3 separate regions of the Homo sapiens genome follow, and all the other regions are linked to region 3. The links are contacts of gene promoters, found by promoter capture Hi-C in blood cells and fetal thymus (Javierre and others, 2016). All regions are on one chromosome and are shown on one strand. The core of a region is centred on a gene start or on the middle of the fragment in contact, and the rest is flanking DNA. Distances in the headings are between cores, read along the strand shown.

What was found. Contacts are between HindIII fragments. The CHiCAGO score rates a contact against its expected background, and 5 or more counts as called.
Region 1: a fragment that was not itself captured here is called in contact with the fragment with the promoter of TTC9B in region 3 in 1 of 17 cell types (neutrophils); the score reaches 5.8 in neutrophils.
Region 2: a fragment that was not itself captured here is called in contact with the fragment with the promoter of TTC9B in region 3 in 1 of 17 cell types (neutrophils); the score reaches 5.9 in neutrophils.

The regions. Positions count from the first base shown.
Region 1 is chr19:39,786,306-39,789,612 of GRCh38, reverse strand. No RefSeq gene overlaps it. Among named protein-coding and RNA genes, the nearest start is that of LEUTX, 9.1 kb to the right of the region's middle. The HindIII fragment of the contact is 1,047 bases long and covers 1,483-2,529 here.
Region 2 is chr19:39,810,908-39,813,988 of GRCh38, reverse strand. No RefSeq gene overlaps it. Among named protein-coding and RNA genes, the nearest start is that of MIR6719, 17 kb to the left of the region's middle. The HindIII fragment of the contact is 7,090 bases long and covers 1-3,081 here.
Region 3 is chr19:40,216,574-40,219,713 of GRCh38, reverse strand. TTC9B (tetratricopeptide repeat domain 9B) reads left to right here and starts at 1,330. Exons shown (of 3, transcript NM_152479.6): 1 at 1,330-1,759; 2 at 2,345-2,527. The coding sequence starts at 1,333. RefSeq lists enhancers at 1-293, 1,872-2,462. The HindIII fragment of the contact is 9,686 bases long and covers 947-3,140 here.

The DNA.
Region 1 (3,307 bases), core at 757-3,256, 430 kb after region 3:
GAGTTACCTCACTTAAAATAATGGTCTCTAATCTCATCCAGGTTGCTGCAAATGCCATTATTTCATTCCCTTTTTATGGCTGAATAGTATTCCATGGTATGTGCGATATATATATATATATATATCTCACATTTCCTTTATCCACTTGTTGATTGATGGGCATTTGGGCTGGTTCTATATTATTGTAATTGTGAATTGTGTTGCTATAAACATGTGTGTGCAAGTATCTCTTTTGTATAATGACTTATTTTCCTCTAAGTAGATACCCAGTAGTGGGATTGCTGGATCAAATGGTAAATCTACTTTTTGCTCCTTAAGGAATCTCCACTGTTTTCTCCAGTGGTTGTACTAGTTTACATTCCCACCAACGGTGTAAACGTGTTCCCTTTTCACACATGCACAACACCTATTATTTTTTGATTTTTTGATCTTTGATTTTGTTATTTTTTGATTATGGCCATTCTTGCAGGAGTAAGGTGTAAGTAAGGTGTCAGATCCACCTTTTAGGATTCCACATGTGTATGAGATCATGTGGTATTTGTCTTTCTGTGTTTGGTTTATTTCATTTAACATAATGTCCTTTAGGCTCATCTATGTTGCAAATGACAGGATTTCATTTTTTTAAATTATTTTTTAATGGCCAAATAGTACTCCATTGTGTATAAATCACACTTTTTGTTGTTGTTTTTAGATGGAGTCTCGCTCTGTTGCCAGGCTGGAGTGCAGTGGCGTGATCTCGGCTCACTGCAACCTCCGCCTCCTTGGTTCAAGCAATTATCCTGCCTCAGCCTCCCAAGTAGTTGGGACTACAGGTGTGCACCACCACACCCAGCTAATTTTTGTATTTTTAGTAGAGACCAGGTTTCACCATGTTGGCCAGGCTGGTCTTGAACTCTTGACCTCAGGTGCTCCACCCTCCTCGGCCTCCCAAAGTGCTGAGATTACAGGCGTGAGCCACTGTGCCTGGCCTATTATTTTATTAAATACTTTCTTACCCTTTTCTCTCTCTTTGCCTTCTGGGACCCCAGTAATTTGAAAATTTGGTTGCTTTATGGTATCATATGTCATGAAGGCTTTTATCATTCTTTTTAAATTCTTTTTTATTTTTGTCTTCCTGGGTTATTTCAAAAGATATGGCTTCAAGTTCTGAAATTCTTTTTTCTACTTGATTTAGTCTGTTGTTGAAGCTTTCAAATATATTTTGTATTTCATTCAATGAAGTCTTCATTTCCAGAATTTGTTTGGTTCTTTTTTATATCTATCTCTTTGGTAAATTTCTCATTCATATCCTGAATTGTTTTTCTGATTTGTTTGTATTATTTTTCTGAGTTCTTTTGTATCTCACTGAGCTTCTTTAATATCATTATTTTGAATTCTTTATCCAGGTATAGTCTCTGTATGATTTATTTGGCTGTAAGCAACATCAGTAGTGTTATTTCCTCCGTGGCTTAAGGTGCAGTTGTTGGTGGAGGCTGTGAAGCTTTTCTGGGATAGGGGATGTCAGGTGGGCCGGTTTTCGGGCCCAGTGGTGGCAGTGGTGAGCCTGTCCTTGAGTCCCAGGGTGGTGTACGCTGGCACAGGTTTAGCAGGTTTAGGTAGGCCAATTCCCAGGCTTCCAGGTGGCTTTCTTGGGTGCTGGCATTGCCAGCCGTAGGCCAGGTAGGTGCGTAGTTCCTGGGGCCACTGGGCAGCAAGGGTGGCATGGGCAATGGCAGTAATATTGGCAGGACAATCTAGCTCCCAATCAGCTTGTGCTAGTGTTGGTGATGGCTGTGACGGGCTGAGCAGGCCAGTCTCCAGGCCTGTAAGTGGCACATGCAAGTAGATGCCACCTGAGGTGGTAGTGGCCAGCTAGGTGTGTTCAGCCTCAGGTCCCTGGGACTATTCTCATCTCCTGGAAATGCTTGTGCATCAGTTTAAAATCACCTCTTTGCTGTGATCTAGGGAGACTAGTGAATGTCAAATCCCTTCAGTTCCCAGAGATAGGTGATTTAGGATGCCGTGGAAGCTGCAAAAATTTGGGTGCTCACTGCATGGAAAAACTCCTTCCAGGGAGAGTCTGTAGACTTACCACTAGAGCAAGCAAGGGCAAAAGGCTTGGACAGTGTCTGAACTCCCATTCAGGCTCCCAAGGATCCAGCATTTGTCTGCCCTGTTGACTTCCAGATACAGGCTGGTTAAAAGCATGACTATCAAGCAGCAGCTGGAAGAGTGTGCTGGCAAATCCTTTTTGAGGAGTAACTGGGAGCTGTACATTTTGACCCCTTCTCTGCACTGCTCTGGTTGGGGGAGTGTGGTGGAGGAAGGCTAGCCCTGAAGTGCTTGTGTGCCTGCTTAAAACCACCTTTTTCTCTGTGAGCTAGGGAGACTCACATATGCCTAATCCCTTCCATTTCCAGAGCTAGGGGATTTAGGATGCAGTCCCTTGAGTGCAGGTATAAAAGTTGGGGTGCTCAATGTGTGGACAAACTTCTTCCAGGAGGAATTGATAGACCTGGATTTATTGCTGGGCTGAGCTGGGGTGAAGCTTTGGGTGGCACCTAGCTTCTGTTCAGGCTCTTGTAAGTCTGTAGTTTACCTACCTAGTCAACTCCCTGATGCAGGCTCGTTAGGAACTTAACCATCAACTGTTAGGGTGCTATATGTGTGGTTCACTGCTTCTCTCCTGGGGGAGAAGCTGGGAACTGGGGATTCCTTCCTGATTGTATGGCTCAGTGCCCAGGGTGGGTTTAGTGTTTCTGAGTGCTTCAGCTTTTGCTGCCTGTTTGATAAGACATTTTTTTTCTTGTCTTTTCTTCCTTTTCTTTTTTTTTTTTTTTGAGATGGAGTCTTACTCTGTCGCCCAGGCTGGAGTGCAGTGGTGCAATCTTGGCTCACGCAACCTCCGCCTCCCGGGTTCAAGCAATTCTCTTGCCTCAGCCTCCCAAGCAGCTGGGACTACAGGTGCCCACCACCACACCCAGCTAATTTTTTGTATTTTTAGTAGAGACAGCGTTTCACCATGTTAGCCGGGATGGTCTTGATCTCCTGACCTCGTGATCCACCCACCTTGGCCTCCCAAAGTGCTGGAATTACAGGCGTGAGCCACCGCGACTGGCCTGCTAAGACATTTTCTTAGTTGCCTGGTGTGTAGGAGTCTCTCCACTCACTTCTGACTTTCTTCCAGAGAGAACTGATGTAGGCACAGACGTTTATTCAGTCCATCAATCAGGAACCTCCTATGTCACTGTGTTCCTGGCGTCACTTCTCTGAATACAATCTTTAATGCTGAAATTTGGGTGAGGAGGCACTCAAATGGAGTTCAGAA
Region 2 (3,081 bases), core at 420-2,919, 410 kb after region 3:
TTTCTTGCCCCAAGTCATTCCCTACTGACAAATTGCCCATCTTCCTGATTCTCTGATCCCCTCCTTTCTCCTCATTTTCCAAATTCAGACAAGTCTGTGCATGGGGTGATATCACCGCACCAGCTCTGTCCCTGGCTCATTTTCTGTAACCCTATACTCCAGGCGTTTCTCCACATTTCTCTGAAGCCTGAAAACGATCCTTCTTAATGACCATGAATGGGCTGGAGTTGCTTGGCAATCCTGTCCTCTGCAATAGGACATTTAATCTGCTTGTGGCCTTTCGCCATGGTGGTGGCCTCTTCCCTTATTTGGGTTATTTTTCTGGATCCCTTTCCACTCAAATCGGGTCAGACCTTCCCTGACACTCCTTGTACACTGCAAATTCACATTAAGCATATTATGTTTCACATAGTCCAAATGAAACAGTGATTTGGCTACTCATTTATTAACTGTCTGGGAGTTCCAGCAGGGTCAGAATCAGGTCTGTCTGTACCGTCGGTGAGTCCTCAACATCACCCAGCACAGGGCCTGGCACTCAGTAGGTGCTCAGTAACCATGCGCTGAATGAATGAGTAAATGAAGGAGTGAATGAATGATTGCCAACCTCAATAGCTGGACATTTATCATGAGGGCAGTAGGAAGCCACAGAAGTATTTTAGGCAGAACTGGACCCATTTCTCTCAAACTCTGATGTGCATCTGGGATTTTGAATGTAGATTCCGCTTCGGTGGGTTGAGGAAGGGGCCTGAGATTCTGCATTTCAAGCTCCCAAATGATGCCAAGGCTTTGAGTAGCAAAGGTGTTGCCCTGCTCTTCAGTACAGTACAGGAGCCACTGGCCACATGTGGCTCCTGGGCACTTGAAATGTGGCTCGTGTGACTTGAGATATATTTTAAGCATAAATACCCACCAGAGTTAAAGACTTGGTACAAAAAAAATGTTTTATATTGATCACATACTGATATGGTAATATTTTGGATATATTGAGTTAAATAAAATATATTATTAAAATTACAATTAATTTTATGGTTTTTTTAATTGGGCTATTAGAAAATGTTTAATTAGCTTTGCAGCTCACATGTATGGCTCGTGTTACTCTTCTGTTGGATCATGCTGGTCTAGAACACTCCCGACTCCCTGTCACCTGTGGGCATTTGTACGTGCTTCTCCCTCTTTTTGGAGCACCCTTCTTTCACCCACCTCCCCACAACTAATTCCATACACTGTTCAGGTCTCAGTAAAGGTGTCTCCTTTAGGAAGCCCCCTTGGTCCCCCAGGGTGGGTGGGGGGCCCGTTCTGAGCTTCCACAGCTCCTGGGGTTTCTCCCATCCCAGCCTTGACCCATCTGTCTGCCTCTCCCCTGTCCCACCTTGACCAGCTGTGATGTCAGCATCTCTGCGTCTGTCTCATCTTTGGACAATAAATCCATGAGCATGGGGGCAGAGTCTATCTTGGTTGCCACATTATCTGCAGAGCCTGGCACACAGTCAGTGAATATACTGCATTAATAAATGACACGTGAGATGTGGGTCGTGCACATTTCACAACTGGACTGTGAAGCCAGCCTCAGAGGCCTCATTTTGATGGCCCAGCCACCAGCACAGCATCTCCTGCTGCTTCGACTCCTGCTGGGCGTGCAGTAGCCATGCCATGGATCACATCTGCCTTCTGTAGAATTGCTCTGCCCACCTGTCTCTGAGCTACCCTGTAGCTCCTCTCAGGATTTGCCCTTTACCAATGGCACATTCCTGAACGGGGGCTTGGTCTTTTCTTTGTTAAGTTATATCAGTTTTGGGTACAACATAGATTGTGATAAAGAGATTTTTTTTTTCTCCAGAGATTTCTTTTATTTAAATTGCATAGAAACATTGCTTTAAATAAAGTAATTTTAAAAATAGTCTGTCGGTCTTTTCCTTTGAGATTCTTTGGTTGCTTCAGTAGTTTTGTAATTGACATGAAAAGATGTTCCAACTCATCCCTAATCAGAGCAAGACAAAGATCAGGAAACTGAAATCCACTTCCTCTCCTTCCAGCTTGCTTGTTCAAGTACCACCTCTGCTTCCAGCGCAACCTCCAGGCCACGTTCCCACACTCTCCCTGTCCATCATGGCTCTCCTTTTTCCATCCCACCCTGCCCACTGTCCCCTACCAATTATAGATTCATCATTACAGTCACCCTCTAAATTCCCTTCCTCCTCAATCGTTTGGTCCCAGCCATCTGACTAAAAGCCAGCCCCTAATTATATGGAACATCTAAAGAAAAAAAGGCCACACTAAAATTCTGTTTCACAGCCTCAAATTGACAAAAGTTAAGATGGCTGTAGGTGAGGATGGGGATTCACAGGACATCTCATATGTTGCTGATGGGAGTTCAAATTAGTACAACCCTCTGGGAAGTAGTTTGTTGTTATTTTGAAAAACTGAACCAAATTGAAAATCTGAATCCCATATGCTTGGCACTCCTAGGTCCTTACCCAAGAAGAGATATTTGACCACATGCATCGATTGAGATGTTAAAGTTCATAGTATCTCTTCTCAGCCTTTGGCTAAGATCAAGTATACAAAGTTCATCTGTCAACTTTTGTATGCTTTTGTAAAGCATTTATCTGATAGCAAAAAGAAACACATCTGATGTCCATTTAAAGGAGAATTGATAAATTTTAGTATATCTCACATGACGGACAATTACACAGCAGTGAAAATGAAGGAACAACAGATGTACAAGAAAAAGATGAATTTAGGCTGGGCATGGTGGCTCCTGCTTGTAATCCCAGCACTTTGGGAGGCTGAGACGGGAGGATTGCTTGAGGCCAGAAGTTCAAGACCAGCCTGGGGAACATGGTGAAACCCTATTTCTACAAAAAATGCAAAAATTAGCTGGGCTCAGTGGCGTGTGCTTGTAGCTCCAACTACTCGGGAGGCTGAAGTGGGAGGGTCGCTTGAGGCCTGGAGGTCGAGGATGCAGTGAGCTATGATCCTGGACACTGCACTCCAGCCTGGGCAAGAGGGTGAGAGTCTGTCTCAAAAAAAAAAAAAAAAGAAAAAAAAAAAAGAATTACAGAAACATAATGTGAATAAAAC
Region 3 (3,140 bases), core at 81-2,580:
ACTTGTTTTCCCCCATAGACAGCCGAGCTGGATGAGGGCAAGAAGGAGATCTCTCTTGTTTTTAGAGTTATTCCCTCCTCCAGGAAGACTTTATCACCACCTCAGCCCAGGGCAGGTACCTCCCACATCCCAGCCCCGACCCCTCTGCCTGTGCCTCTTCCACCTCGGCCCCGACCCCTCTGCCTGTGCTTCCCAGGCTAGCCTGCTCAGGGCTGTCACTGTCTGGTCACTGGTCTGTCTTCCCACTGAACTGGGGCCCAGTGAGAGTAGGGTCTGAAGCTCACGCAGTGTCTGCTATGTCCCAGCATCATCCAGCACAGAGCTGGGCACAGAAAGGATGTCAGTGAATATTTGTTTCATAAATTAACAGATGAATCCCAAAGGTGGTATTATTTTTAATTCCTTTCCTTTCCTTTTTTCTCTTTCCTCTTTCCCCTTTCCCCTTTCCTTTCCTTTCCTTTCCTTTCCTTTCCTTTCCTTTCCTTTCCTTTCCTTTCCTTTCCTTTCCTTTTTTGAGACGGCATCTCCCTCTGTCACCCAGGCTGGAGTGCAGTGGCACAATCTCGGCTCACTGCAACCTCTGCCTCCCAGGTTCAAGTGATTCTCCTGCCTCAGTCTCCCGAGTAGCTGGGACTACAGGTGCACGCCACCACACCAGGCTAATTTTTGTGTATATATACAAAAATTTTGTATATATTGTATATTAGTAGAGACGGAGTTTTGCCATATTGGCCAGGCTGGTCTCAAACTTCTGACCTCAAGCGATCCATCCACCTCGACCTCCCAAAGTGCTGGGATTACAGGCGTGAGCCACCTCGACTGGCCCTAAAGGTGATATTATTGTGCCATGTTACTGATGAGGATACAGAGTTCCAGGTAGTTTAAGCGAGCTGTCTAAGTCATACCACTAGTGAGAAAGTAAGCAGGGATTTGAATTTGGGAAGCTTGGGTCCAAATCCTGTGTTCTCATTCGATATGCCAAATGGCCAGTGGGCTGAGAGCCAGCTTTCCGTGAGGCTGATGTCTTCCTGCTCTTTCCCCCAGGCTCGTCCTTTCCTTCTAGAAATCTTCGGGAGCTTTGGGCACCGGGGAGGAGAGCAGGCAGGAGGTTGGGGAGGGTAAGGGGAATGGGAACAATTCGGGGGGCGGGCTGGAGAACTAGGACTTGGTTAATTTGAGAGTGAGCATGGGGGAAGTCTCGAGGGGTTTCCCTAGACCCATAGGGGGCAGCCGGAGTCGGCTGCCGGAGGTGAGGGGGCGGAGAAAGGGTGGGGACCAGCCCCGCGGGGGGCGATGCGGTAGCTGCAGCGGCGGCGGCAGGAGTTTCCCACAATGCAGCGCGGCGCGCTGTCCCCGGTGCTGATGCTCAGCGCTGCCCCGGAGCCTCCGCCGCGCCCGCCTCCCGCCCTCTCCCCACCGGGCTCGGGCCCAGGCTCGGGCTCCCGCCATGGCTCGGCTCGTCCCGGTCCTACCCCAGAGCCGTCGGGGAGCCTGGGCGCGGCGCTCGACAGCAGCCTGCGTGCCGCCGTGGCGTTCAAGGCAGAGGGCCAGCGCTGCTATCGAGAGAAGAAGTTCCGGGAGGCCATCGGCAAGTACCACCGAGCGCTGCTGCAGCTGAAGGCGGCGCAGGGGGCCCGCCCTAGCGGCCTGCCCGCCCCCGCCCCCGGGCCCACCAGCAGCCCCGGGCCGGCGCGCCTCAGCGAGGAGCAGCGGCGCCTGGTGGAGAGCACGGAGGTGGAGTGTTACGACTCCCTCACGGGTACGCCGTCGGGGGGTGGGGGGATGGGGCACGAGGGGAGGGGGCAATCGGGAGAGCTTGGCGACTTGGGGGCCAGGGGCCCTGGGGCTGAAGGGTCCAGGGCTGTGGGCTTCTGGGGGAGCCTTCAGAGCTTGATCAAGGAAAGGGATTAGGGGTAGGGGATGACAGGGGTCTGTGGCTGGAGGGAGCTGGGATGCAGGAAATGGTCTTTGGGTCGGGTATTCAGGGCCTCGCTTCCCCTGAGTCATTCTTTCCACCCCCTGGCCGCACGTGGACCCAAGGTGAGGAAGTCTGCCCTGAGCCAGGCTCTCGAGGTCCCGGCCCTCGCCCCCGCGCGGGGCCTTAGTGCTCTTGCCCACCGACAGCTCTGGGTGGATCGCCCAGTGGCGCCTGTCCGTGTTTTGGCGCCCCCTAGCAGCGGCGCAGTTGCGCCTGTTTCGATAGGCGAGCGGATTGGCGCCCCTGGTTGCCGGAGCAATCCCTTAGGCCTGGTTCCCTGCCGCCTGGAGCCTCGGCTCCTCGCAGTCAGGTGGGTTCTGGGGGTGCCAGCAGGCTCTGAGAGTGCCGGCCGCGGGGCCCTCGCAGCTTGCCTGCTGCAGTCGGAGCTGGTAAACTACGAGCGCGTGCGCGAGTACTGTCTCAAGGTACTGGAGAAGCAGCAGGGCAACTTCAAGGCCACCTACCGTGCCGGCATTGCCTTCTACCACCTGGGCGACTACGCACGCGCGCTGCGCTACCTGCAGGAGGCCCGCAGCCGGGAACCCACAGGTGAGTGGCGGGGCGGGGCAGAGGTGAGGGCTGGGCCCAGGGCGGGGAAAGGGGCTGCAGCGGAGGGAACAGGCAGGAAGATCAGGGCAGAATAGCAGAGCCCTCCTCCCGCGGAGCTGCTTCTAGGTAGGGCTGCGCCACCCACCTACTCCCTACACGCCCACTCATCCATTCATCCACCCCGCCCTTCACCCGCCATTCAAACATCCGTCCACCTATCGCTCCTCTGACATCTCCCCGGCCATTTCTCATCTACCGTCATTGCCACATCTGATATCTCCTATTCACCTGCTCAGTCACTTCCCTATCCACCCACTGTCATCTCCATTACCCCGTCCCACCCCTGCCTACCGCACACACTCATTCCTCCACTCACCCATTCACGCACACCTATTCATTCACTTCCTGCACCATCCACTCATCCACTCGGGTGGACGATGCCAGGAAATTGGGGTGTGTGTGTGTGTGCGTGCATGTGTGCACTTACACACATGAGTGCAGGAGGGCAGACACAACACTCAGTTTTGTATTAAGAGCCAATGAAGAAGGAAGAGGGATTACAACAGGTGCAGGGTTGTGGGAGCCGAGACGAGATTAGTTTTCCTGTTAAGTG